Linked DNA regions of Homo sapiens: all the other regions are linked to region 3. Evidence: promoter capture Hi-C in human tissues and cell types (Jung and others, 2019). All regions are on one chromosome and are shown on one strand. Each heading gives the region's core, a stretch centred on a gene start or on the middle of the fragment in contact. The rest is flanking DNA. Distances are from core to core; before and after follow the strand shown.

Region 1 (4,509 bases), core at 1,386-3,885, 1.1 Mb after region 3:
AGAAAGGCAGGGTCCCCGTCCTTGCAGCTGGTGGGTGAGGGGCTAACCGAGCTTCAGGAAGCGCTGCTTGTGCCCTGAGGGAATCTCGCGGAGGGCGAGCGGAGCACACACCGAGTCCTCTCTCCCGACAGCGGACCTCTCAGGAGGGAGGCGGGAAGTGAGGAGGGGGAGGCGGGAAGTGAGGAGGGGGAGGCGGGAAGTGGGGAGGGGGAGGCGGGAAGTGAGGAGGGGGAGGCGGGAAGTGAGGAGGGGGAGGCGGGAAGTGAGGAGGGGGAGGCGGGAAGTGGGGAGGAGGAGGCGGGAAGTGAGGGGGAGGCGGGAAGTGGGGAGGGGGAGGCGGGAAGTGAGGGGGGAGGCGGGAAGTGGGGAGGGGGAGGCGGGAAGTGGGGAGGGGGAGGCGGGAAGTGGGGAGGGGGAGGCGGGAAGTGAGGAGGGGGAGGCGGGAAGTGAGGAGGGGGAGGCGGGAAGTGGGGAGGGGGAGGCGGGAAGTGGGGAGGGGGAGGCGGGAAGTGAGGGGGGAGGCGGGAAGTGGGGAGGGGGAGGCGGGAAGTGAGGGGGGAGGCGGGAAGTGGGGAGGGGGAGGCGAAGGGGCGGCGGAACCTCCGGAGGCGCAGCTCAGGCAGAGCAGGCCGCGGCCACAGAGGGCTGGGGCTGGGGGCGACAGGAAGTCCGGGAGGGGAGAGGAAGACAGCGGTGGGGCCGCGAGGCCGGGAATCAGGAATCTGGGCAGGGGCAAATTGGCCCAAGTCTGCAGTGTTCTTTAGCCAGCTCTGCAGTGGGAGAAAACAGGAGAGGGCTGGACAGCGGGCGGTGCAGCGGGGGAAGGGCGAGAGGATGCACGTGTGACTCGCTCTGCGCCCGCGGAGGTGCCCGTCCGCTGGCATGGCCCGCGGGGTGGGGAGTCGCTGCATACGGCCCCTGAAGGCAGCTCCCGGCGAGGGAGGCGGAGCCATTTCCCGAGGGCGGAGCTGCGGCCCCGCCCCCCGCCTCCCGCCGCCTCCCGCCTCCCCCCGCCCCCCGCCCCCCGCCGCCTCCCGCCTCCTCCCTGCCCCGCTCCGAGTCCGCCGCGAGGCCTTCGAGGGGAGAGGGAACTCGAGGCTGCTGCTGGGGCGGGGTTGGGGTGACTGGCAGTGGGAGAGCCAGGCAGGGGAGGGGCGAAGAGGAAGTCAGGGAGGGCACATAGCTCCGGGAGGGCCGTGCTGAGGCGGAGGGCGCAGCAAGGGTGGGGGTCGCAGTGGGCTGCAGGGGGATCGCTGAGCACGGAGGCTTCAGGTCCCGAAGGAGCGGTGGCGCGGTGACAGGGGCCCGGGCGCGGCTCAGCTCGCTGGCGGATGAGGGGCTGGGAGGAAGACGTCCATGCGCCCCGAACCTCAGTGCTTTGCAGAAGGGCCCCAGGGTGGGCGGAGGACAGGGACCAAAATGCAGAGAGGATGGTCCGGCTGGAGAGACGGGTGGGCGGAGGACAGGGACCAAAATGCAGAGAGGATGGTCCGGCTGGAGAGACGGGTGGGCGGAGGACAGGGACCAAAATGCAGAGAGGATGGTCCGGCTGGAGAGACGGGTGGGCGGAGGACAGGGACCAAAATGCAGAGAGGATGGTCCGGCTGGAGAGACGGGTGGGCGGAGGACAGGGACCAAAATGCAGAGAGGATGGTCCGGCTGGAGAGACGGGTGGGCGGAGGACAGGGACCAAAATGCAGAGAGGATGGTCCGGCTGGAGAGACGGGTGGGCGGAGGACAGGGACCAAAATGCAGAGAGGATGGTCCGGCTGGAGAGACGGGTGGGCGGAGGACAGGGACCAAAATGCAGAGAGGATGGTCCGGCTGGAGAGACGGGTGGGCGGAGGGCTGCAACAGTGGGGTGTGAAGACCCTGAGAGCAGCACCTCCCGCCCGCATGGGGCTGCCAGGAGGCGAAGAGCCTTTACCCAGAGGGTTTTCAACTGAATGACACTGTCAAAGAAAAGCCAGGATCCACTAAGGCAAGAAGTATTAAAAGTATTTTAGGGAAAGTCATTTAAAGCTCTATAACATTGTATTTTCATGGAATCTTCTAGATTCTTCCCCTAGAATCAGAGTTAGATTTTCCATTAAGTGAATGAAGCTCAAGTTTCAGGGCCTCTCCCTCGCCTTCTAAGGCCCTGTTCATAATTCCGTATTTGTAATTATTTAAACTGCCCCACCCTGATTATATAACTTTTAGGTCCCACAAAAGCTTAGCCAGTCTCTGCCTTAGAACTCCACGAGTTGGGAGGATGAACGAACTTCCACGTTTTGATTTCCAAACAATTTCCCTACCCTTGCATTGTTAAAAGATAAACAGGAATAAGTGTTCTGGCTGTGAGTGAATTTTTTTTCTTAACATGTTTTGGCCTGGATACTATCTGAAGGTGTTACCCAAGCAGTGGGGTGACTTTGCTGACGACACAGTTACTCAATACTCCCCAGCTCAGGGTGAAGGTTAGGTGGCACGTTGGCGGGACATGTGACTCACATGCGCAGGTGTGTTCCTTGGGAGGAAGGCTTGGAACAGGCACCTGTGTGTGCCCAAGTGTTTCTAGCAAACACAGGGACCTGAGTGTCTAAGCACAGGCCCACTTTACAGGGGTCTCCTGAGAACTCCTCCCCCTCCTGAGAACTGTGCCTTCCCAGCCAGAAGTCACTCATACAGAATGTTCCCAACTTATGAATGGGCATTGTTCTCAGAAAGAGAATTTGTAAGTCAGTTGTTTAGAACGGGAAGGCATCTCCCCAGATAAACAAGTGTATGTGTGATCTTTGTTATTCAGGAAAGCCTAAAAGAACATCTTGTGTCCCAGAAATCAAGGACTGTACAATGGGAACAGAAAACTCCAGCTGGTGGAATCATGTGGCCCTCAGAAAATGCCTTCCAACTTCTAGCCTGAGATCCTGGGAATCTTCTCCACTGTCACAGACCTTCTGTGAGAAGGGGGGACGCTTCCCAGCTCCACGTCCCTGATGTGGCTGCCATGTCCTGGGGCAGAGGCCAGTGAGGAGAAGCAGCTGGGTGTAGGCGGCCAGGCCCTGGGGGCTAGAGGGGGCAGAGTCCATTCCCAGAGCTCCTTTCAGAGTCCGCTCCCTGTCCATGTCCTCTGAGGGCCCAGGGGTGGGCCTCCTTGCCTTTGCCTTCTTGAAGTTTCCTTGGCCGGGAGCAGTGGCTCACGCCTGTAATCCCAGCACTTTGGGAGGCCGAGGCTGGTGGATCACTTGAGGTCAGGAGATAAGGACCAGCCTGGCCAGCATGGTGAAACCTCGTCTCTACTAAAAAAAAATACAAAAATTAGCCGGGTGTGGTGGCGCGTGCCTGTAATTCCAGCTACTCAGGAAGCTGAGGCAGGAAAATCGCTTGAGCCTGGGAGGCAGAGGTTGCCGTGAGCTGAGATCACGCCACTGCACTCCAGCCTGGGTGACAGAGTGAGACCCTGTCTCAAAAAAAAAAAAAAAAAAAAGTTTCCTAAGTCTTTGATTCTTAGGACAAAGTGGTAAACAGACTGGGGATTTAAAAAAAAAAAAAAAAGACTCCCATGTGATGGCGGGGTGGAAGGTGGAATGCTCACTTTTCAGGTACTGGCCTTCTCAGGAAAGACCAAGACCAACATAGAGAAGGATGGTGGATTTCTGGGTATACAAAAGACCAAACAAATCCAGATCATCAAGGTTAGACCCCTTGCATTTGTGGTTGGCTTCAGTTGAGATGATTCCCAAGAGCTTACATAATAAACTTTACTTTTTTAAAAAGCATATTTTCATTGATCTTGCCATGATATAAGCAAGCTATATCTTATACACTTATCTATATCTATGTAAGATATACCATTACCCTTTTCTTTTTTAATACAGGGTCTTGCTCTGTCACCCAGTCTGGAGTACAGTGGCTCGATCCTAGCTCACTGCAACCTCAAACTTCTGGGCCCAAGTAATCCTGCTACCTCAGCCTCCCAAAGTGCTGGGATTACAGGCATGAGCCACCATGCCCAGCCTCAATATTTTAAAAGTTTATATTTTACAAAAGGCTTTCACATCCATATGATTTAATTTGAGGTAGAGAGAGTATTATTTCTGTTTTATTGCTGAGGAAACTGCCTGAATCACTTAACTAGTTGGTTGGGAAGCCAGGTCCTCTGTACTGAATCTTGTGCCCTTGCTGTTTTTAGAGGCTGATTAATCCCTGAAAGGGAGATGGGACACACAGAACCCTCTAGCTGAAATGAATCTCCAGAGAATGTCTGGTTTTCTCCCTGGCTCTAGACTCTACTAAATTCTAAAAACATCTAAATGCTCTTCTTTTCTTAAACTTCTCTGGGGAATGAAATCTATCCTCTCAGTTACCTGTCCCAGCAACAAATAGCCACTCTGTTTAGAAATCCATGCTGTAAGGCTGGGCGCGGTGGCTCATGCCTATAGTCCCAACAATTTGGGAGGCCAAGGCGGGCGGATCACCTAAGGTCAGGAGTTTGAGACCAGCCTGGCCAACGTGGCAAAACCCCAT
Region 2 (5,058 bases), core at 1,877-4,376, 1.0 Mb after region 3:
GTGTTGGGATTACAGGTATGAGCCACTGCACCCGGCCCTGGGACATTTTAGATTGCTTTCCTCATCCCCATGAATTTTAATAACACAGATATACTATCTATGTACTGTGGCCCTATGGGGGGTTCCAAACCATAGTAGTATTTAATAGTTTTTCATCCCCTACCCCACCAAGAACCAATTTTCATTAGAGACTGCATAACCTATCTAATCCACAGCAATTGCTTCTTCTGACTTCTGTTTCTTCTGACTACTTCTTCTGACTTCTTTAGCACTTAAGTCTGTGCCTCTCATTTGACAGTAATATCTGATTACAGCTCTTTTACTGACTAATACTGTTTTATTTAACGTTTAATAGAATTTTACATTTTTAGCGTATCATTTCCTAAACTAGATTTTTAAGTGTCTGTCTTCTTCCCCATGGCTTCTGGAACATACTTACATGATGGCTAAATTAATAAATGCTCTAGGAGACTTTCAACAATAAGTTAATGAGGGCTGTGCCTAATTAAACACGAAATTAAAATGACAAAATTCCATTAAAATTATATAAAACCTGAAAACGGGCAATAGCTTGAAATGATTATAGCAGACCGATTTTAAAATATAAAATTATGTTATATAAAATAGCTCAGATATTTGCACATATTCAACATGTATTTGATTCTCCAAAGAAACAGAAACAAAGAGTCTTTATTCTCATACAAATTACTGTCAGCCATTTCAAAACTACAGATATGTACATAAAACACAATATGGCTAATGTATACTACCATTAAGTAAACATGATGAAACTGCACTCCGAATCAATGTGACTCAGTAAGTAATCAGTGAGATTACTCACAATCAGTAATTCTGATTATCAGGCTAAGTGCAACTGGTTACATATAAGACTACTGATAGCGGCCAAGACAGGAGGATGGCTTGAGCCCAGGAGCTCGAGACCAGCCTGGGCAACATGGTAAAACCCCATCTCTACAAAAAATATAAAAATTAGCCAGGAGTGGTGTTGCGTGCCTGTCTGCAGTCCCAGCTACTCAAGAGGCTGAGGGGGAGGACTCCTTGAGCCCCAGGAGGTCGAGGTTGCAATGAGCTGTGATCTTGCCATTGCATTCCAGCCTGGGCAACAGAGCTACACCCTGTCTCAAAAAAAAAAAAAAATTACTTTAGTAAAGATAAATATTTCCATCCATCCCAATATATCAGCAAGATTCAGAATCTTTATAAAAGAATTATTTCCGGCCAGGCACAGTGTCGCACATCTGTAATCCCAGCACTTTGGGAGGCCAACGTGGGTGCACCACCTGAGGTCAGGAGGTCGAGACCAGCCTGGCCAACGTGGTGAAACCCTGTCTCTACTACAAATACAAGAATCAGCCAGGTGAGGTGGCGAGCGCCTGTAATCCCAGATACTCAGCAGGCTTGAGACAGGAGAATCGCTTGAACCCAGGAGGTGGGGGTTGCAGTGAGCCGAGATCGTGCCATTGCACTCCAGCCTGGGCAACAAGAGAAACAAACAAAAACAAAAATATTTCCTTCAGAAGGGCAAAGTATTAATAAATCTGTTGATTTATCAAGTACTATGACCAATTCCTACCCTTGTATAAAGGAATATTCACAAATATGTTCTCAAAGGATAAATTAAAATACTAGACCATAATTAACTATTTATTGTGTTCAAGTATTAACGGAGTTGCTAATGCGGTATCCACGTGGTGTGGGTGGTGGTAAATGCAGTTCCCTGGGTTAGAGAGAGGATAAAGTAGGAATACAGTGGCAGAGTTAAACACTGGCTAAAACAGGATAAAAAAATACTTTCCCTAGGGTATACCATATGTCACATACTGATGGCTTGGAAAGACTATGCTAGACGCTATATTTAAAATAGTCTCTGTCTTCCAATATTAAGTCCAAATAACTATTTTATTATGAGTGAAATTACTATTTCTAATTTCCATCCAACAGCCACCAAACCACAGTACCCAAAGATACCTCTCTGAACAATAAATTGTATCTATATTCAATGATCACATACATGCTATGTTCTGCTTCTGTTGTCATACTCCTTACCACACCCTCAACAAAATTATGACAAGAAACATGACATTGTGACAGATTAAACAAAACCAAAGCTGCCAAGAATAAAGGCATAAAACTTAATTCTCCAGGTTTTTCTATGAATAACTATATTTAAACTTGTAGAGGTCAATGCTTTGAAATGAGCACAAAGACATTTTGAAATATCTCCCCCCTCCCGCCATCTGTTTTCAGTAAAGTCCATCTGTGAGAACTTTGCTGACTGTATTTCAAAACATAGTAACATTTGACTTTGATGATCTGTCCAAACTGCAATCTAAAATGAGAATTTTCCAGAGTACACTTTACCTTTGGAAAGACAGAGAACCATAGTGATAAAGATAAAAGGTCTTTAAGATCAGTCTAATATGAAAATAATTCACAAACCTATTGGGTATTTATTGGTTTTGGCCTAACTCAATTCAACAGAGTAATTCAGTTTAACAAATATTTATTAGATGATTAAAAATAAGATGAATAAAACATAGTCTCTGTCTTCCATGGACTTACAATCTAATAAAGTGCTAAATTAGCCAAATAAATGACTTCATAGAAAAAAAGGTATAGCTAGTTCAAAGATAAACATGATGAGGCTCAGGAAAGCCTGCATGAAGAATAAAAATTTTGCAAAGATGAGATAAAGGAAAATAACCAAGAGGGAAAAGCAAAAGTGCCATGTTGAGAAAAAGAGACTAGTTCATCTAGAGCTTCGGGGGCATTTAGGAAAGTAGCAAAACATAAATGAGGTATTTAAATGTTAGTGGAAGTACAAGAAGTGCCACAAAGACTCACAATCATGATACTATCTACCATCCACAATTAGATGAAAAAGGTCAAGAAATGGTACAATATCCAGGGCTGGAGACAGTAAACCTTTGATTAAAATCTGTCTGCCTTTATAAATGTCATTGAGAACTGAGACCTTCTGCATTCACACAGCTTAATTATAAGGACTAAGATCTAAGGCCCCTATATCAACAGAACTTTATTATTTGTTCTCGGAAATTCTTGCCCAGGAAGGTAAGAATGCAAACCAGTAAATAACTTCATCATTAGCTTTAGGAATTTCTCAAAAATTCATTTAACTGAACAACAGACTGCTCAATTAGATCCTTAATCATTGCTCAACTGGGCAAACATGCTCACTTACCAAACAAATATTTGTTTATCAAGACTTGGTCTAAGAATTCTATCACAAACTCAGAACAGGGCCAAGTAAAATCTCCTTAAACTACTTGAAACCAGACCCCAAAACCCTGTAAATATCCATATCCAATACTTTCTTTCTGAAATACTTCTAGGACTCTTTAGGGCAGTGTTCACCCTTACTGGAGTATGTAATAAACCTGGCTTAGTTTGATCAACAGGTGATTTTTATGGTCTTTTTACAAGTTGACAGGTTGAAGCCAGCCTTAACTTTAGAAATTGGAAATGTGTAGCAAGGGCATTAGCAAGCTGATATTACTAACAAATGAAAACAAAGAGGTTTGTGGAAACAAAGGTATCTACAAAAAAAAATGATAGCTGAAGAATAAGTATTGATGGATGTATACCCAGTATTCTCCAAAAGAATAACTATAATATCTAGTCTATATGAATATTCATTTTGGCCTGCCTAGAAATATATATACTCTGACTTCCATCAAAGCTTAATGGAAAAGATCTTTAAAATCACTCAGTTTTTTAAAAATTCTCAAATAGCAATTCTATCTTTTTTTTTTTTTTTTTTTTTTTTTGACGAAGTCTTGCTCTTGTCCTCCAGGCTGGAGTGTGATGGCGCAATCTTGGCTCACTGCAACCTCTGCCTCCTGGGTTCAAGCGATTCTCCTGCCTCAGCCTCCCGAGTAGCTGGGATTATAGGCGCCTGCCACCACGCCCGGCTAATTATTTATATTTTTAGTAGAGACGGGGTTTCACCATGTTGGCCAGGCTGGTCTCGAACTCCTGACCTCAGGTGATCCACCCGCCTCAGCTTCCCGAAGTGCTGGGATTACGGGCGTGAGCCACCACACCCGGCCTCTAATCTTAATTGAATTTCTTAAGCAGGCTTCTCCATGAAAATAAAATGAAGTGATTGACAAGAGTCTATTTACAAGTTAGTTTTCTTACAATAAACTATTATATAGTGGCATTCTTGATTTTGGTTAAAGTAAACCAGTTTAACAGAATATGAAGGTTGAATGAATAAAAGTTCCTTATCTCCCAATTTATAAAGAAGAATCTGGAGCAGAAGAAAAGTAGGACAACCATAAAGGCTGATCTCTTTATTCAACCTAATATCTTGAAAGCTCAGAAAGGGAGCAGGGAGGCAGAGGGGAGCCATAAAAATAAAGATCAGGACAACCTGGTTTGAAATGCCTCTCTTATATTTTTGTCCAAAAGCTTACAGAATGCCTCCTAACTATATACTTTAGCAAATATAGTTAAAAGAGTCCAGGCTTTAGGGTCAGAGGCCTAGGGGCAATGGTCTAATCATTTCAACCAGTACACAACATTACACAAAATTTGAAACTGATATAAATTGCAAAAAGAAATTTGAATGATGGCATAATACTGGACCAGGAGGCTAAAGACCTAGATTTCAGGCCCCAGGTGTCTTGTCTTACTTACTACCACATCCTCCACCCCACTATACACCTTGACCTTTCATTCCAGCTATGCTAGAAATTTTTCAGGTTCAGACATCAGTATGTGCCAGTGTGTACTCAATAAACATTAGCTATTATTATTACTATTCCCTACAGGCATCGTATTACATCTGCTTCTGAATCTTCACATCTGCTGTTCCCTTTGTCTAAAATGTCCTTTAGTCCTTTCTTAGCTAAATCCATTTGCAACTGGAGTTACTACCATAGTAATCTGTGCATAAAACCACACAGCACTCACCACAAATGTACTGATTTACCTGTCTCTCCAACTAAACTACATGCTGCTTAAGGGCAAAAACTATGTCTTCTCAAGTCCAAAGTGCCAACACATGGTAAA
Region 3 (4,834 bases), core at 1,588-4,087:
CTGGTTTGCAGGTGATGTGGCACACCTCCCCCACCTTCATGGTGGCTATGGCAATGTCCCAAGCCTTGATGACCTCCCCTGCAGGTACAGAAGCAAACAGGACCGCCTTAGCAGGGTTCTGATTCTGGGCTCAAACAGTGCTCCTGAAGAGTTACTGCACCACACTCATGGGGAAGCTGGACATCCTTTAGAAATGGGACCAGAAGGTGAGGTACCTGGTTGTATTAAGTGCTACCAGGTCTAAGAACTGTAAAAGATCACGTGACCCTGAACAAAAGAGTTTAAGATGCAAGACAGTCCACCTTTGAAGGGGGAGTAAGGTGTTGGGAGGTGATGAGGAGAAGGGGAGACAGAGATCAATATAGTTACAGAACGGTAGAAAAAAAAAAAAAAGAGTGACCGAAAGAGTTAACAGACTGTGATAAACCATTCCTCCCTGAGCTTGGTCCTGAGAAAATGGTTTCTGCTTGTGACAGCTTGTGTCCACCTCGAACCTATCCTACCAGCCCACTGACCACGCCTACCTTTTCCCAGGTCAAAGGAGAATTTGTCCTTGCGATCCAGACTGGAGTCAAACTTTGTGCCATCTAATAGCCAGCCAGTGTAGTGGACAAAGACTCGGTCCCCAATCATGGGCATCTCTGTACCTGTGCCCTCTCTCTTGATGACCTGGGAGGAAGGGGGAGAAAGTGAGTACCCCAGGGTTTGGGGCAGAAAGGGGCACCAGCACTGCCTGCAAGCCTCCAGAGGGAACATAAAGGGACTTCTCTGTGTTCATCCTCCTCTGCCTACTTGTCCCTCCAGATTCAGTTACTAGCAGCTTGGCTTATGAGTCAACTAACCTTCTTGTCTTTCTTGAGGTGCAGCAAGACTTGGTTTGAAAAAGGAGACAAAAGGCTGAGAGATCTGAGTTCAAGTTTCCGCTGTATGGTAAGTTTTTAAAATTCTCCACACTTTATTTGTAAAGCAGTGATGATAATCCCTATCTCCTACAGTTGTTGGAAGATTAGACCAGTAAAAGGTTGAATAATAGATTATTATTATAATCGGCAAAGGGGGAAGTATTTATGCCACACTTCCTCCTTCTTCCTTCATGCCAGTGGTCGTCAGACTAAGGTCTGGTTTGGAGACAGGAGAGCGAGAGGAGTATGAGTGAAGAGAATAGAAACAGTTCAAAACAGGTAAGGAAGAAACCAGGTTATAGGTGAACCCGGAGGCTCTCCATGGGACCTTAAACTCTGACTTGGGAGCTGAGTATTCCTCTGGTAGTTAGTCCAGGGCTGGAGTATTTCCCAGAAACGTAAAGGCTTCTTTAGCGCCACCTGGTAGGTGTGTGGTTACCCTCCAAGGGAAAGCTTCCACGAAGAATAGACAGGGGCTTTGAGGAGTAGAAAGGTAAAAGGGAAGGAATGATGGATCAAAGGGGAAATGAGCTTTCCTGGAATAACAATCTCGTAGAAAACGGCAGGACGCTGGAGCGAGAAGGGGAAGTCACATGCCACAGGAGAGCCGCTGGAGCAGACGCTTGAGGTCCCCAATAATCTGGTGCAAAGACAGATGCACTTCTGGACCAGGTAAAGGCCCCCTGAGGTGGGTGCCGCACACGCGGAGCTCAGCGGTGGGAAGCCAGGATGAGGACGCAGCAGCGGATGGGGAGAAGGCATAAGACGCAGGCTGGGAATTCACCATCTCTGATTCTCCCTGGAACCTGCTCCGACCCAAGGCAGGTTGTCCTGGCCCAGGTCAAGATGCCCTCCCCGCAGCTCCCCAGGCTATTTGTAGTCGAGCGGTCACTCGGCGGCAGGCTCCACAGCAGAGCGCCTCCTCCCCGCCCCACACCCCGCAGCCCTGGCTCCGGGAGGCGGCGGAGGGGGGAGGGGACTACAGCTCCCGGCATGCCCCGCGCCCGGCCTCCCCGGGGCCGAGGGAGGGGGCGCCGCGCGGCGAGTGGGGACCTCGCTGGGTCCCGGCGTCGGCAGGGGACCCCGGGAGGGCGCCGGAACCCTGTCGCGCCTGCGTCGCACAAAGGCCGAAGGGCCAGGAAAGCACTGTGGGGAGTCGCTCCCCGTCCTGGCCCGTGTTCCACCGCCCGGGTGGGCGAGCCCTGGCACCGCCACCAACGAGGCGGCCCGCGGCTGGCAGCTCCGCTGGGGCCGCGAGGTCGGGGGCGGCGTGGCGTGGGAGGCCCGGCCTGGCCCCGGGCTGCGGCTCGGGTGCCCGCGGCGGTCGCCTCGCCCCGCCCCTCTCCGCCGCCCCGCGCGCGCCGGGGTGGGCACTGCAATCCCGACCCCCTGCCCGGGCCCGGGCGCTGCCGGCTGGGGAGCCTGGGGCCTCGGCCCGCGCACCTAGGCCGCCCCCCTGCCGAGCGCATGGCCGGCCTCGGTGCCTTAAACGACGCAGCCCGGTCCGGGACGGCGATGCCACCGGCCCCCGGCGGGACGGCCGCGAGGCTGCAAAGGCGGCCGCCTCGACCCGTGCCCGGCCGCGGGCTCCGGGCGCGGCGGAAGGGCGGCCCGCGGGGCCCCGGGTTCCGACGCCTCCGCAGGCCCCGCCGCCCCTCACCTTCAGCACGCCTTCGTCCTGTTTGGGGCTGATGTCCACTCCCTCCATGGGCAGCGGCGCCGACTGCGCCCCGCTCTCGGTCGCCTTCATCTCCTCGGCTGTCATCTCCGCGCGGCGCGCCGTTTATCCGGGAGCTGGTGCCGGCGCGAGCGCACTCTGGGCCGCGGGCGGGGGCGCTACCTGCGGGGCGTGCGGGAGGCCGGGCGCGGCGGCACTGACTGCGGACCGCGAGGAGGCTTGAGCACCTCTGCACGCGGCGCGAGAGCTGGGGTAGGTGGGTCAGGAGCGGCTCGGGGAGCGATTGGTCCCGCCCCGCCGCGAGGGAGGGGCTGGGAGGAGCGGGAGCGCAGACAGAGGGGGCGGGGTGCAGAACTTTCTAGAGACGGCGGGACTGAGCCGGTTCGGGCTCAGTGCTGCGGGCGCTTCGGAATTTTTTTTTCTTTTTTTTTTTTTGGTTCTTGCCTCCTTCTGGCTGCCTGCCCCCTCCCCCTTCTCCTGGGACCCTCGGACTCGGGATCTCCCCGGCGGCCTCCCTTGGCCCTTCCTCCCTCCCTCCCATCCCCGCCCGCTTCCCTGTCTAACCGGATTCTTCCAGATTCTTCTCGATCGATCTCCCGACATCACTCCACCAGTCCGCTGCGCCTGCGGCGGGGTGTGGGGAGCGCAGGCTGCGGGATGGCAGTGGCGGCGCCCCCTCCCCGGGACCGGCCGTCACCACGGGCGGCGTGGCCTCTCTGCTATGACCCGCGTAGACCCTTCCCTACTTGGGGGAAAGAGGGCAAGGGCGTGCGCGGGGAGCGGGGAGTGAGTGGACAGCGCTGCCCCGCTGCAGAGAGCCGGGGAAAGCGACCTCGATTTCCCCAGATCCGAGAAGCCCCGGCCAGGCAGCGATGCCTCGCTCAGCGCCTGCAGATGCTGCGAGCAGCGGGGTTGGCAAGGCATGGCCCGCCCAGCTCGGAACTCAGATGGGGCACACACTCAGGGGACCCTTCCCGGCGGTAATAAAACTGCCGTTTCCGCGAATGCTTACAAAGATGGGTTCCCCTCACGAAAAAAGTCACTCGGTTTTCCTAAAGGCCCACAGAAGGAGTATTTTCTTCTCAATGTTTGCTTCCCGAGTGTTTTTCGACAGGCTGTGGAGCGCGCAGGTGCCGGTGTCACCTAAGCTATGGTCGTGGGACCTAGAGAGCCATCTAGAGAGGGGCCTGGTTTTGCTCAGCACCTAACCCCAGTTTAGCATAGTGCCTGGTGAGTGATGTCCCAATAGTTACTGGCTGCATGAATTTTCCTTTTTTAAATTTCTTTTTCCAAGTCTTGGCTGATTTTTTTTTCTTTTTTTTTTTTTTTTGAGACAGGGTCTTGCTCTGTCGCCCAGGCTGCAGTGCGGTGGTGCGATCTTGGCTCTCTGTAGCCGGGACTACAGGCGTCCGCCACCACGCCGACTAATTTTTGTATTTTTAGTAGAGACGGGGTTTCGCCATGTTGCCCAGGCTGGTCTCGAACATCTGGTCTCAAATGATCCGCCCGCCTCGGCCTCCCAAAGTTCTCGGATTACAGGCGTGAGCCACTGCGCCCAGCCTGAATTTTTATTCCAATAATAACTGTATTTTTGGACTTCCCGTTATGTGCCCGGCACTGTGCGATTGGACGCCATTAGTCTCATCAAACTAAATTGAAAGCTTTTTAGAGATGAACTTTCAGCGTCATAATGTGATGATTTATTGTAGTCCCTGCCGACGGAACTTGAAAGGGATGCAGAAGAAAAAGCCCTTCGCTTCAGCAATTTACAGCCCAAATGAGTTGAGCCATAATGAAGACGTCTCTTTAGGTGGCTGGAGACAGCTTCAGAGGATACGGGGCGCTGCCTCTGTAGGGGTTAAATCCACTACTTTTATGCAGAAGTAACAGTGCCAGGGGTCACCCAAACTCCGGGAGACCAGGATGGTGGGTGCTGGCTTCCGGGGTGGCAGTTTACCGCAAACTGTCCTTGGCTTGCACCTACTGATTCTCCACGTGTGGCGGTTTCTTTTCTGCGTCTTTTTCTTCATCGGAAGCGGACAGTGTGGGACCCCCCCTTTAATTCTGTTCGGCACGTACATAGTGGAGCCCTTCAGATTGCCTGCCGTTACATTAACACATAGCCTAATACCCTAGTGGAATGAGCATGTGCTTTGGAGTAAGGGACGTTGGGCGGCCCATGTGTTATGTTAGCTGTTTAAATTGGGGCAGGTTAGTTAATCTTCATGTCTCGATTTCTTGTCTGTAAAATAGA
Region 4 (5,029 bases), core at 1,426-3,925, 1.4 Mb after region 3:
CCACACCCAGCCAAAGTTCTTAAAGCTAGATGTTCTGAGGGAATTTTATCTTTTCTTTTTACAAAATCATGGTCCATACATGGTAAGAAAAGAATATAACTGAGTCAAAACATAAACCAACTATACACCTGTGTGTACATACAGTGAAGTATCTTTAAATAAACCCAGAGGATATAAAGGCATTTTTAGATTCTTACTGAACCATTCAGATTGAAAGCAAATGATATAAGGCCAAACTCTCCAATACCATTTTTTTCTCCTATACTCTGACTATTCATTATAAAAGGATTTCTCTGTATATATGTATCTGTACAAACATACGTGGTTACATTGTTAAAATTTTCCCACAGCTACTATTGCACTCTTGATTTTCTCTATTCTCTAAAGTTTCTTTTTTGTACAACTGAGCTAAATGGCTTTCAGTCTTTTCTGTAGAAGAAAAAAACAGAAAACCACCATTTATTAAAATCAGGCTTTTCTAAAAAAAGTTGTTAATTATAGAAAAGTATCTTAAATTATCTATCTCTTCATAGTTGTTGAAATATTTCCACTTATAATTTTATAAATCCAAATATTTGAAAAACTTTGATTTCCAGAAATATACAAGTATCAGGTATAGATTGATTCTGATAAGAAATGAATACCCATTAAGGACCACTTAAAATGAATTGGAAGCTGAATAAAGTAATGATACTAGACATCAAAGCTCAACTGCTGCCAGAGGTATGGTTTTCCAAAACAGGTAAATATGTGACTTGGGCTAAGGGATGAGGTAGTAATGAAAATTATAACTTAAAAAAATCGGTTATCTGCATGTAAGCATTAAAATTCAACCTACTGATTACTTAGATATCTAAGCCCAGAACATACATTTTATTTTCCTAAAGAGAAAAGGTAGTTTGCTTAAGTCTTCCTTCAAAAATAAATCCCCACCCTTGAGGCCTGATCACTCATGAGATCTGATCAAATTCCTCATCTCCCACTATCAATATGTCATCTCTCTGGCTTGTCTTCAGCAACTCCTGTTGAGTAGGTCTGGCAAGAATCCCCCAGCCATGACGTTTCTTCTTAGTAATTTTCCATCACTGACCCCCACCCTGCTCCTTCGCTACACATCTCCATTGGTCCTTGTGTATTCTGAGTTGAGCCCAATCTCTGCCCTCTAACACAAATCCTCATCTCAGTGGTCCCCTGAATAGTCTGCCTTACTGTCTTTAAGAAGTATCAGGAATATTTTTTTTTCTCCAGCACACTAAGTATAAAAGTACAACAAGAACTATACACACAGACAAACACTAAAAAGGCAGAGAGAAGGCAGACCAGTCAGGAGTGCTGTGACCTGCAGCTCCCTGGATCTTTCTGCCTTATATATCCAGAGGTAGAGCTGAAGAAGCCAACAACCAGGAAATGCCAACAGGCACAGACCAAAAAAGCTTCAACAGGAGCCCACTCTCTCTAGCCAAAGAAGCCTCCAAAGGAAAGGGACAGCCTAGCAACATAGAAACCTGTGGGACAACAATCACTCTATTCCAAAGACCATGTGGTCCCACTGTCACTCATGTCAGTAAAGACCAAGCGGCGGGCCCCATGCTCACCAGGTTGTGAGGAGGTGCTTCAGCCTCTCCTTGCTCCACTGGAAGGTGTCAGGGAAAGCCGAGGGAGGCAGGGCTATAATCTCCAACCATCAGCAATGAAGTCTCCCCTCCACAGTGTCACTAGAGACTAGGTGAGGATTCTAGAATTCCACCTCCATGGAGCAGTAACAGCCGTGTCTCCTGGTGGAGTCGGACCTTCACTACCGCACAGCAGTAACCAGGCCCCCCTTCCTTCACCCCCACTGTGTTAGTGGAGGCCTTCCTACCCTAACCAGGCAGGGATACACCAGTGAAGCCTAGTGGGGACATGAATACCCATCTCCACCTAGGAGTAACAAGAAGCCTCCACCCCTTGAGTGTCAGCAGGGTCCAAGTGGGAGAAACTGGACTTCTACCTCCACTGGGCAATACTGAGGCAGCACCCCATTCTTCCCCTGCTGGAGTGGTGTCAAAGAAAACCAGCTAAAACAGAAGTCTAAGTAAGACCCAGAGTCATATCGCATAACATCCAACATGTCCAGGTTTCAACTGAGAATCACTCAACATCCCAAGAACCAGGAAGACCTCAAACTGAATGAATAAAAGACAATTATGATTAAAGGCACAGCAGCGAACTGAAACATTCATCTTGCCAATAGGATTAGGTAATTAGGCAGCAACTGATCAGCTACCATAGCTGGACTACTGCTGGGCACCAGAAGTCAGAAACAGCTCTTAGAAGACATGCCAACATAGCTGCTCCCTCCCTCATCAAACTTGTCAGTAAGGCTTCATTAATTTCCTCTCCATTCCTGGAGTGGGATGGTTGAATCAGAGTGCGACTGTGTGTGTCTGGAAGTGACCTCAACTTAATCAGACCTCAACTCAATCAACTAGGAAACTTCTAGGGCAGGGCAACCTATTCCAGTCCCAGTTCTTGTAGTAATTTGACCATAGTGAATCCACAACTGGGTTCATTTAATACTCCAAAATTCATGGTTTGACCACAGTTTTATTTTGGTGGTGACTAAACTAACCCCACCTCCGGGAGATGAACTGACAGTACCTTTGGGCATCCTAAGCATGCTCTGGTAAGTACTTTTGACTTTCCTTCCAGTTTTTAGGTTCAGAAAAATTCATTCTTTGTCCCATGTTTCACCTTCCCATTTAGATTAATAGTAGTAAATGTTAATTTTATTAACTCAGTAATGTATCAATTTAGTAATTTTTACTTTTATCAATTTGAAAAATTAAACTTTATTATTTTTTAAATGTATTGATTTATTAATCAATATTAATAGACAGTTGGTATTTACTGTATCCTTGATTTTTTTAAAATTTTAATTTATGTCACTGTGGGTTACACTGTCCTAGAAATATATGGAGCCATACTGGCTAGTGATCAGTTCTAAATATATCAAGAGACAGGTTTATCGCTAAACAGGCTGACTTATCCCTGTTTAGATGTTTGTTATAAGCTAATCACTAATCATAACATACCAGTGTTTACTACTATAATTAGAAGGAAATAATCTACCAAAGAAAATAAAAATTTTAATAAAATGTCTACTGGTATTTTGAAGTATAATTTACCACCCAAATATACAAAGGTCACTTCCAGACACACACAGCCCCGCTATGATTCAACCATCCCACCCCATGAGTGGAGAGGAAATTAATGAAGCCTTAACGACAAGTTTGATTAGTTCATGAAATAAGTGTGTAACTTAAAATGGAGAGATTAACCTACTCAAGGGTTTTTTTGTTGTTGTTTCTTTAAAGGCACTACATATTTTTGCTTAGAGACTGAATGCAAAACAGATTTTTTAATGTAAGGTGCTTTTAAGGAAAATAGGCAAAATACCCGGGAATTAATAGGATTTGGACAGAATTCTTTTCTTGAGGGAGTGCTTTTCAAGACTACATTTATGTTAACTCTTTGGAGTATTCATGTAGCATTATCCTCATTTCCAGGAACAGAGCTTTATTAATTTATATATCAAATCAGCAAAATGGCTATGGGGTATATAAGATCACAATCACCTGTGATATATTGTGCCATAAATGCTTAAAGCATTTTCAACACATGTAAGACATGAAAAAAAGGTCTTAAAAACCCTAGAACTGCATAAAAACTCCTAGCAATGCATATCCAGTAGAGCCAATTCTGAAATCCATTACCAACAGGCTTACAGAGGGCATATGCTCATTGAACTATAATCTGTAAGGATGAAAAGAATGGCCTGTGTTAATATTTTAGTATGTGTCAGAAAACAGTAAAAAGTAAGTATAACTTGCCTATATTCTCTCTTAAGCAAGCTATTCCATTTTCATGGGTTTAAGTAGTATTTCTGTTCTGATGACTCCAAAATTATCATTTCTAGCTCTCATCTTTACCTGGAGCATCTCCAGCCAACGGCTTTCTTGATGTATCTATTTGGGTATAAATAACCTCGAATTCAACTCTACTAAAAATAAGCATGTTATATTCTCTTCCATATATGGCCTTTCTTCTTGATTACTCATTTTAATTAGGGAGACCACTTCCACTTACTTGGCCAGACCAGACATCTGACTGGCCAGTGGTCTGTGGGTAGTGACCGTGGGACCCAAGCATAGAAGAAACAGCACGGGAACCACCAATTACTTGTTCCTTTGCCACAGTGACCAAGAAGGCCTCATACTGAAAGAGCTAAAGGAGGAAATTTTTAGTAGAATTGGATTACTGAATTGCTGCATGGAGGGCAGCTTCCTCATAGAGCCGGCAAGATCTGCGGTGGACTTTGTGTAACCAAGAAATAAGCGTTTACTGTGTTAAGGCACTAAGATTAGGTGGTGTTTGATACACAGAATGGCCTAGTGAATACATTACTCCATCTCAACTACCCTATATTCTTGTCCTCATCATTTCATATTTGGGCAACTGGAATAGATTCTTAAACAGTCTCCCTGTTTTTAATCTTACCATCTTCTTACTCCAGGCTCCCCTTAACTTCCTCCATTAGCTGCCAGAGTGATTGATTTATCTATAAAAGAAAACTCTGAAAACATCGGTGAGACTAAAAGCCTCTCCATGGCTTGGCATCCCCTACAGGAGCAAGTCCAAGCTACTCTCAGCATTGTCAATCCAGGGCTCTCCGTGACCTGTCTCCTCCTGGCTCTGGAGTCTCACGTCACTGCCCAGGAGTAGTGCAGACTTGGTAATAAGAAGCCTTCTATGGCTCCCTGATCTCAGGATGCTTCATGCTTCAGCAACCCTGGCCACAATGATCCCTCTGCCTAAGAGCTCCTTTTCTAGCTCATTCATGAGGCTAATTTTTTTTTTTTTTTTTTTTTTTGAGACAGAGTCTCTGTCACCCAGGCTGGAGTGCGGTGGCGCAATCTCAGTTCACTGCAAGCTCCGCCTCCCGGGTTCACACCATTCTCCTGCCTCAGCCTCTCCGAGTAGCTGGGAC
Region 5 (4,426 bases), core at 271-2,770, 1.1 Mb after region 3:
TGACTGCTGAATGACGGGTTTCGTCATTTTTTTTTTTTTTTTTTGAGATGGAGTTTTGCTCCTGTTGCCCAGGCTAGAGCGCAGTGGTGCAATCTCGGTTCACTGCAACCTCCACCTCCCAGTTTCAAGCGATTCTCCTGCCTCAGCCTCCTGAGTAGTTGGGATTACAGGCGCGCGCCACCATACCCAGATAATTTTTTTTTTAATATATTTTTGGTAGAGAGGGGGTTTCATTCATGTTGGCCAGGCTGGTCCCGAACTCCTGACCTCAGGTGATCCACCTGCCTTGGCCTCCCAAAGTGCAAGGATTACCGACGTTAGCCACCACCCTCAGCCCACTTTTTTTTTTTTTTAAGAGACAGAGTCATGCTGTGTTGCCCAGACTGGTCAGAGTCATGCTGTGTTGCCCAGACTGGTCTCAAACTCCTAGCCTCAAGCAATCCTCCCACCTCAACCTCCCAAGTAGCTGGAACTACAGGCGCAAGCCACCACTGGGCTTGATCCCATTTTTGTAAAAAATAACTCTCGGCCAAGTGCAGTGGCTCATGTCTGTAACCCTAACACTTTGGGAGGCTAAGGTGGGAGGATCGCTTGAGCCCGGGAGGTCGAGGCTGCAGAGCCATGACGGCACCAGTGCACTCCAGCCTGAGATACAGAGTGAGATCTTAAAAAAACAAAACAAAAAAAAAAAAAAAACTGCAACACAAAGAATAAGCCCTATGTAAACTATAGACCAATAAATAACAACATATTGATATGGGCTCATCAAATGCAATAAATGTGCCAAATTAATGCAAGATGTTTGCAATAGGAGAAACGAGGGAAGGGAAGGGAATATGGGAACTTTCTGTGCTATCGGCTCAAATTTCTGTACATCTAAAGCTGCTAAAAAAAAGTGTAATTTTTAAATTCTGAATATGCAGACAAATCTGCAAATAATTACTTGTATATGCACACAAAGAGAGGTGAAAAGACCTATATCAAACTGTTGCCCCTGGTTATCTACAAAGGATGAAAACTGGAAACTAGCGCATGAGAAGGAATTTTTTTACATTATACAGTTGGCCCTCCATATCCATGGGCTCTTATGTCTGTGGATTCAACCAAGCTTGGATCCAAAAAGTTTAATATAGCATCTGTATTTGAAACATGCAGACTTTTTTTTCTTGTCTTTATTCCCCAAACAATACAGTATAACAACTATTTACATAGCATTTATATTCTATTAGGTATTATAAGTAATCTAGAAATGATATAAAGTATTTGGGAGGATATGCACAGGTTATATGCAAATACTATGCCATTTATATCAGAGATTTGAGCATCTGTGCATCTTGATATTCACCAAAGGTCCTAGAAGCAGTCCCTACAGACACCAAGGGATGACAGTATATCTCTGGACTGTCTAAACTTTCTACACTGAGCAATAATGTAAGTAGAGGCTCTGTAGCATATTGTTAAGAATTTGGGTTTCTCAAATCAGACTGCATGAAATCAAATCCTAGCTCCACCATTTGCTAGCTGATAAACTTCCAACAGTTACTTAATTTTTCTCCTTGCCTTAGTTTCCTCACCTGTAAAACAGAAATCATAGTATACACTCACAGAGCTGCCACAGCAATTAAATAATTTCATACACGTAAAGTAGTGGAAATTGTCTAGTACATAGTAAGTGCTCAATAAATGTTAACCAGCATCTTCATTACCAAGCATTTATTATTCCTGGATTTTCTTTTTAAATCTTGACTGGTAAGACTAATCATGAAAACCCGGTTCATAAGCCCCTTTCTAGAAAGACCTCCAATGCAGAAAATACAAAAGCAATCAAAATCCAAATACAAATAATGAAATACTTCTTAAAAAAGCAGATTACAGGGCTGGGCACGGTTGCTCACACCTGTAATCCCAGCACTTTGAGGGGTGAGGCAGGTGGATCACATGAGGAGTTCGAGACCAGCCTGGCCAACATGGTGAAACCCCGTCTCTACTAAAAATACAAAAAAAAAATTGGCCGGGCTTGGTGGCGCACACCTGTAATCCCAGCTACTAGGGAGGCTGAGGCAGGAGAATTGCTTGAACCCAGGAGGCAGAGGTTGCAGTGAGCCAAGATCGTGCCATTGCACTCCAGCCTGGGCAACAAGAACGAAACTCCGTCTCAAAAAACAAAATGAACAAAAAAAAAAAAAAGCAGATTACAAACCAACATTTATCAATTTGAGTTCATTTATATAAAAAATAATCACCAACAAATTCTATAATCACAGAAAAAAAGCCCCAAGTGGTGTACTTGTAAATAACTTTTACTTTCTCCTTTACAATTTTCTGACTCATTTAAATTTTCAACATTGACTATGTATCATTTTTAATGGAGCTCGGCAAACTTTTTATATTAAGGTCCACATAGTAAATAAATATAAGGTGTTACAGGCCACATGGCTCTCTGGCACAACTACTCAACTCTGCTGCTGTACCCCAAAAGAAACTACAGACAATACCTAAACGACTGCATATGGCTATGTTCTAATAAAAACTTTTTTCTTCCTCTTTTTTTTAAGACGGAGTTTCGCTCTTGTTGTCCAGACTGGAGTGCAATGGTGCAATCTTGGCTCACTGCAACCTCTACCTCCCGGGTTTAAACGATTCTCCTGCCTCAGCCTCCCGGGCAGCTGGGATAACAAGAGTGCGCCACCACACCCGGCTAATTTTTGTAGTTTTAATAGGGACGGGGTTTCACCATGTTGGCCAAGCTGGTCTCAAACTCCTGATCTCAGGTTATCTGCCCGCCTCGACCTCCCAAAGTGCTGGGATTACCAGCGTGAGCGATCGCACCAGGCCTAATCAAATCTTTATTTACAAAAAGAGGCAACTGGCAGGACTGGGCCTGCAGGCTTTAAAATCTGTCAATCCCTGAAATAAAGAATAAAACAAAATTATTTTCATTTTAGGAAACAAAATGTGATTTATACTAAAAAAAAAAAGTGCACCAGCTAAATTGATACTATTGATAGAAAAAACCATTTATTTATAAATTCATACAAGGAGCCTAGGGATAGAAAAAAAAAACAAACTCTCTTTTAGGCTCTGGAAATCCTACTCCCATTCCTAGTGTCAAGTGAAAAGAGGAAATCTGCTAAGCAGACCAAAGTCTAGATAGGAACGTATACTGGAGGACAGACAGTTACAATCAGAAGTTAAAAGAAATATGCCTTTCACATTTAATTTGCAATTTTTTCAAATTTCATAATTCACCAACAAGCAGCTGCCACATGTGTGGAAATCTTTACTGATGAAATAATTTTAGTTGCAGATCATCACAATCAACACTCTGACAACAAATTTATCAGAACGGATGAAAACATCTAGGAATTACCTAAGAGTCGTTTAAGGAGACATAAGGGTGGCCTTTGATAAGAGGTCACTTCAAACTTTCAGAACTGACAAGACGTATAGCCTCCCCCCAAAAAATAATGCTATGGGTAGATGGATGCTTTTTTCTGAAGGAATTTTTAGCATTTCATTTGGAAAAGTTCTGTGATCAAATAATGCTAAATGTTATGACAGCTTTCTTGGCGTTTAAAGGGATTCTCTGGGTGAGGGGAAGGGGTGATAAAAAAAAAAAAAGTCTGCTTTTGGAACAGAAATGGGGGACAATAACCAAGGCTCAGAAACCCAGAGTCAAAAAATTAAAAGAACATCTTATTTTAAAAAAAAAGTCAACAACCTGCAATGAAGTCACCGTACCCCCATAAAATCCCAACTGTGCATTTAAATCTTTCTACCAAAATTCACTTTTGGACCATCTTATGAAGTTGTCAAAATTTCAGAGGCAAACGCTTAAATCAAGATCAAAAGCCAGGAGGAAAAAAGAGCTAACAGTTTCCAACCCAAACTCTCTCCGAGCCCCCTAAAAACTGATTTATAACCCTGTCATCGGTAATTTTAGAAGAAGCGAACACTGACGGACGGGGGCTTGGGAAAACAGGACTCCAGGTACCAAGCAGGCTGCCTGACGCGCCACCTGAAAAAGGTGAGGGAACTCTTCCCCACCCCAGTCACTGTGAAAGTAGCGCTGAGAGAGCCCATCCCAAGCCTCCACCAAACAAATTCCTAGAAGTGATAAAAACAGACAAGAGACGAAGAGGGGCGGGCAGATCCTCTCCGCGGGCAGGGAGCTGGAGCAACTGCACCCGAAGGTGAGCAGAGGGCAGCAGGCTCCGACCCTCCGCCGCGAAAGGCGAGGCGAGGGGAACAGCGGGCGCCGGACTCCTCCGACAGCGGTCGCAAGGAGGGCGGCTCCAGGTCCCCACACGGCCGACCCTCAGGCCAAGGCGCGCCGGGCGGCAGGTCAGAGTTAGGAATCAAGTTGCGGGCCGGGCCGAGAGCGCGCTCTCCCGCCCGCGCCAGGGACATTCGCCCCTCAGCTCTC
Region 6 (4,607 bases), core at 1,890-4,389, 1.0 Mb after region 3:
GCCTGACCCTGTGTGTCGAGCCCACCCCGCCGAGGCCGCAGCCGTGACCCCACGGCGTCTCTGGGCGAGTGGGCCCTTCGGCGGGTCTCCCCCAGCCCTGCTCAGGCGGTGCCCAGGGCGGTGCCAGTGCCCGCGCCTGAGCTGCGTGGGGAGAACTTGGAAGGCAGAGGGAGTGTGAGAAGAGAAGGCCGGAAGTGTGCGATGTCCTCGGGTCGCTGGGAGCCCCGCGGGCAGCCTCTGTCAGGCTTCCTGCTGTGTGGAAGCCGCTAGTTATAACCCGCCCTGGCCCCGGGGAGGCAGGGAGGCCGCGCGGAAGGGTCTCTCCTGCTGACCCCCCGCACCCAAGCCCGGGAGGACCCCCACGCTGGGAATGCGGCGGCCTCCTCGAGGGTCGCCTCAGCCAGACGTGCCGCTCGCCAGGCGGTCCCTAGACCCCCGGGCCCGTGGCACACCATTTAACAGTGCGGCACCTGCGGCGCTGGCATCGGGGCTCCCTTCTCCCCCACTCCCTGCGCGTCGTGCTGCGCGGGTTTCACCCCGGGTTCTGTGCAGCGTTGAGGGCTGGGGTTAGCGTTCCCTGTGCACTTGTCGCAAAGGCTCGGTGCGAGGATAGAGCCAGCGGGCTCCGGAGTGAAGCGAGGGCTTCAGAGTAGACACTCCTGAATTGAAAACTGGCTCTGCGCTCCCCCGCTTATGACCGTGGGCAAGTGACTTCGCCTCCTCTAGTCTCCATTCTCTCATCTGCAAAATGGGCACAACACCAGCCTCATACAGAGCCGTGAAGGCTGAGAGTATACACGGCTGTGGTGTGCACGTTGGGTGTGTGAGACCGCCCATCCCAGGGGAGGCGCTCGGTAGGCGGCCGCTGGGACTGCTGGGAAGGCCGTGGGCCTGGCGGGCGGGCTCCGCCCCACTCCGCGCCACTCCTCGCAGGGCGGCCTCGCCGAGCGCGGGGCCACTGCGCCACCTGGTGGCCAAGCTCCAGCGCTGCCGCTTCGCCCGGGCCTGCCCCCGCCACCCTCACCCAGAGCAAGTGTTGCCTCGCCCGCCCATTTGCTCCGGACGGTCTTGATTTACGCCTGTCGTCCCTGCATATATTAATAGCAACTCTGCACTCTCCAAAGCGGCCCAGTTTGGACTTCCTCACTGTCTCCAGTCTGCTAGGAAAGGAAATGCAGCAGCAAAGGCTTGTGAGCAAAGCCAGTAGGACTGAGCCATCTGCCAGGCCCGTTCCCTTAGCTGCCCCGACCCGCCCTGCCTCATGGTTCCGGGCTTCCCTGCCACCCTAACTCCACACTAAAGTCTCCAGAAGTTCCTTCCCTAGAAGCCCTTCTCGTGGTCGCCACGGAGCCATCCTCGACTCCCTTTCTTTGCTGCAGGGTATTTGTGGTGCAGCAGATTCCCAACAGTAACCTCCTCCTCCTGGTGACAGACCCCACCTGTGACTGCAGCATCTTCCCACCAGTGCTGCAGGAGGCGACAGAAGTCAAATATATCCTGCAATGCTCGGGGATGTGTGCGGTGGGGGCGGGGGCTGTAGGAGGTGTCTGTAGGGCTCAGATTTTGAGCAGCGGGGCCAGCCTCCTTCACCGCCCGTGTCCTCCACAGGGCTCCGTTATTTGTTCTCTAACCCTTCCCTGGGCCCCGGTGCTGCCTCCTGACCCTAAAGCTGCTTGCAGGGCAACTGGTGGCACCAGAGCAGGTTCTTCCAGACCTTTTTCCAGTCTGCAGAATGGGCTCCGGTCCTGAGATATTGACCTTAACAGTGGCTTCTGCACATAATGCCTCTGTCAAATGTGACCGGATGCGCTCCCAGAAGCTCCGCCGGCGACCAGACTCCTGCCACGCCTTCCATCCAGAGGTGCGGGTTGAGGCGGATCGAGGGTGGGCTGGATTTTCATCCCCAAACCCTCTGTGCCTGGGTCTGTGCCCCTGCAGACAGGAGCATATAGGGATGCCAATGAACACACCTGTGCCTGTGCTTCTCGGGGGAAACATTCGCGTTTATGCCCTGTGACACTGTGATATAATAAGAAACAGATCTTTATTTAGTCTTTGTCCTGATTCCTGGCAAGCTCCTAAAACGCTTGTTATTTCCTGATTAGGGTGATAGGTGCATCTTTTGTTATAGTGTTTGGTCTTAGTCCCTGGTTCCTTCACAGGTGCCTCTAAGACCCTTGGAATGATAGAGGTATCTTTGTATGCTAATTAGATGACTGGTGGCTGGGGGCCCTAGACAGGATGAGAGCTGGCCACAGGAAACACCAAGTTAGGATTAGAGGGTTGGGACTTTTGGCTCCAAGCCCCTGGCTTCTGGGAAAGGAAGGGGGCTGGAGACTGAGTTGATCACCAGTGGCCAAAGATTTAATCAATGATCATAATGAGGCCTCCATAAAATCCCCGAGCCACTGTGTTTGGAGAGTGTCCGAATTGGTGAAAGGGTGTGGGAGCTCTGCGTACCCCGTGCCTTGGCCTACGTGTCTCTTCCACTCAGCCGCCTGACCTGCGTCCTTTATAATAAACGGGTCATGGTGAGGGAAGCACCTTCCTGAGTTGAGTGAGCCACGCTAACAACTCACGGAGCCTGAGACAGGCTCATGGGAACCCTAGATTTACAGCCAGTCTGTCAGAAGGACAGGAGACCTGGGGCTTGCGATTGGCATCTGAAGTGACGGCCACCTTGTGGGACCGAGCCCTGTAACTTGCGAGCTCTAATGCTAACTCTCAATAGTGTCAGACTTGAATTGAGTTTCAGGACAGACACCCAGTTGGTGTCCAGAGAGTGGGGTGGGAAAAACCCTTCACATTTGTTGAAGTGCTGGTGTGAAAGCACAGCAGAGCCCCTGTGTCATTAAAATACGAAGTCAACCAGGATCCCAAGGTGCTTTAACGAAGAGCCACGCTTCCTAGGGCTTGGGCCCTAGGTGAATTAGAATGCAGTTTTCCCATCTTGTCCTCATTCCCGCTACACTTAGTTCCGAATGATCGAGCAATGTGAGGGGGCCGTCACGTGGATAATAGTCATAGTGGCTGGTACGGATCCAGAACCCAGACCCAGGTGTCAGGCCCTGAGCCGGGTGCTTCATACAGTCTGGTCTGCTGGGACCAGAAACCCCCATCAGAGATGCTCCCAGAGTTGAGGACATTCTGAGAGGATGACCTCGCAGCCACTCCAAGCCTGAGGGCAAGCAGAGAAGGCCGGTGCCCCCCTCCCAGGCTGAGGGGCCAGCCTTTGCTTTTCCCCCAAAAGGTAGGGGCCTAAGAGAGGTAGCAGTGCTTCCCCGGCTTTCCAAAACTCCCCTTTCCCCAGGATTTTGGCCCAAATTAGTGGTGGAAGCCCCTCCCTTTTTGAGGGTCCTCCTCTGAGCGCCGCGCTGTCACCTCTGCTCTGCGTTCGCAGGAGAATGCCCAGGACTGCGGCGGCGCCTCGGACACCTCAGCCTCGCCGCCCCTACTCCTGCTGCCTGTGTGTGCCTGGGGGCTACTGCCCCAACTCCTGCGGTGACACCACCCAGCCTGACCTGTGTTTTGGCAAGGTGATCCTTCCAGAGCCATCCCAAAAAGTCAGCACTGACATGGGATGCAGCTAACTGCAGTTGGGTCGCCCCCAGGCCAACGCTCCTCTCAATCCTGGGCTGGTGGCCCCTGGCTCCGGAGAATGCTGGATGGAACAGGAAACCAATCACCTGGCACCACTTTCAAGATGCTTCATGGTGCCCGGTACCATCTGCCCTAGGTCTCAACATGAGCATACTTCTGACCTAACCTTCCTGTCTCCTCTTCGGGAAGCCAGCGTGAGCTCAGCTTGGACCAAGACAAAATAATTTAGTTCTTCCTGTACTCCAGAGTCCAGACCCAGCCAAGAAAGGGTCAGTTGTTTCTGACCCTTTCTGTCGGAGTGGTCTCTGGTAGAACCCAAGGACTTCTGGGTACTGAGAAGCAGCAGCAGAATGAGGCCAAATGCAGAGATGAGGCTAAGGCAAGAATATGCCCCAACTAAAGCATAGATTCCCCAAAGTGAGGCTCATGGTGGGAGGCCACTCACCTTCCTAGCTGCTGCTCGAAAAGGTTTTGACTGTGTTGGGGTGGGGGTTGGGTAAGGGAATGGTCAAGACTGAGAAAGGAATGAAATCCATTCAGGAAATATCGACAGGGCTACACGTGATGTCCCCAAACTGCTGCTATTGAAGAACTTCCCAAAACTTCTTTACAAAGCCCTAAAGGAAAGTTTGCATCTATGAAAAGCCAATAGGCTGAGACATCCAATTGCTGCATGGAAATTGATGTACATTCAGGGGACGGCAAAAATAGCTGTAAAATAGTGAAAAAGAGCAGTGGTTGTGCTCTTTTCTGGCCAATGATTTACAAAAGAATCTACTTGACTCTGTCCCTGGAGTGAAATCCTTAGGGTTGGAACTTGTGGGAACATTCCAACTTGCTAAGCAGGGTCCACTGGGAGGGAAGCTCTATCTGGGAACTCACCCCCAGCGCACACACATCTCCCCCAGGGTCCCAAGGCCCCGCAGCTTCCTCCCCCGACCAAACCCCAAGACCTGGATCCCAGGAGACAACAGTCTCCACAGTGAGAGCAACATTAAGGGCAAAGC

What was found. Contacts are between HindIII fragments. The study calls those that stand out against the background at their distance.
Region 1: a fragment that was not itself captured here is called in contact with the fragment with the promoter of FKBP4 in region 3 in 1 of the 25 tissues and cell types used here (dorsolateral prefrontal cortex).
Region 2: a fragment that was not itself captured here is called in contact with the fragment with the promoter of FKBP4 in region 3 in 1 of the 25 tissues and cell types used here (pancreas).
Region 4: a contact is called between a fragment that was not itself captured here and the fragment with the promoter of FKBP4 in region 3, in 1 of the 25 tissues and cell types used here (small bowel).
Region 5: a contact is called between a fragment that was not itself captured here and the fragment with the promoter of FKBP4 in region 3, in 1 of the 25 tissues and cell types used here (dorsolateral prefrontal cortex).
Region 6: a fragment that was not itself captured here is called in contact with the fragment with the promoter of FKBP4 in region 3 in 2 of the 25 tissues and cell types used here (IMR-90 fibroblasts and hippocampus).

What each region holds. Positions count from the first base shown.
Region 1 is chr12:1,658,393-1,662,901 of GRCh38, reverse strand. It overlaps MIR3649 (microRNA 3649), which reads left to right and starts at 2,522; the gene lies at 2,522-2,587. RefSeq lists silencers at 749-838, 929-1,028. The HindIII fragment of the contact is 8,592 bases long and covers 1-4,509 here.
Region 2 is chr12:1,766,021-1,771,078 of GRCh38, reverse strand. All of the region lies in intron 2 of ADIPOR2 (adiponectin receptor 2), which reads right to left. Among named protein-coding and RNA genes, the nearest start is that of LRTM2, 52 kb to the left of the region's middle. RefSeq lists an enhancer at 4,682-5,058. The HindIII fragment of the contact is 6,690 bases long and covers 1-5,058 here.
Region 3 is chr12:2,792,973-2,797,806 of GRCh38, reverse strand. It overlaps FKBP4 (FKBP prolyl isomerase 4), which reads right to left and starts at 2,837. Exons shown (of 10, transcript NM_002014.4): 1 at 2,563-2,837; 2 at 525-669; 3 at 1-78. The coding sequence starts at 2,667. ITFG2-AS1 (ITFG2 antisense RNA 1) reads left to right here. Exons shown (of 4, transcript NR_146317.1): 2 at 861-930. RefSeq lists enhancers at 175-1,374, 2,868-3,412, 3,413-3,958 and silencers at 1,789-2,198, 2,549-2,608, 2,639-3,018. The HindIII fragment of the contact is 5,309 bases long and covers 557-4,834 here.
Region 4 is chr12:1,388,229-1,393,257 of GRCh38, reverse strand. All of the region lies in intron 16 of ERC1 (ELKS/RAB6-interacting/CAST family member 1), which reads right to left. Among named protein-coding and RNA genes, the nearest start is that of LINC00942, 110 kb to the left of the region's middle. The HindIII fragment of the contact is 7,264 bases long and covers 1-5,029 here.
Region 5 is chr12:1,691,282-1,695,707 of GRCh38, reverse strand. The region is part of intron 1 of ADIPOR2 (adiponectin receptor 2); the gene reads right to left. Among named protein-coding and RNA genes, the nearest start is that of ADIPOR2, 2.4 kb to the right of the region's middle. RefSeq lists a silencer at 4,336-4,425 and an enhancer at 4,244-4,426. The HindIII fragment of the contact is 3,880 bases long and covers 1-3,460 here.
Region 6 is chr12:1,792,553-1,797,159 of GRCh38, reverse strand. CACNA2D4 (calcium voltage-gated channel auxiliary subunit alpha2delta 4) reads left to right here. Exons shown (of 38, transcript NM_172364.5): 36 at 1,380-1,492; 37 at 1,779-1,861; 38 at 3,401-4,607. The coding sequence ends at 3,505. Among named protein-coding and RNA genes, the nearest start is that of LRTM2, 26 kb to the left of the region's middle. RefSeq lists enhancers at 1-28, 29-934, 1,046-1,613 and silencers at 1-185, 286-415, 756-1,085. The HindIII fragment of the contact is 9,636 bases long and covers 1-4,607 here.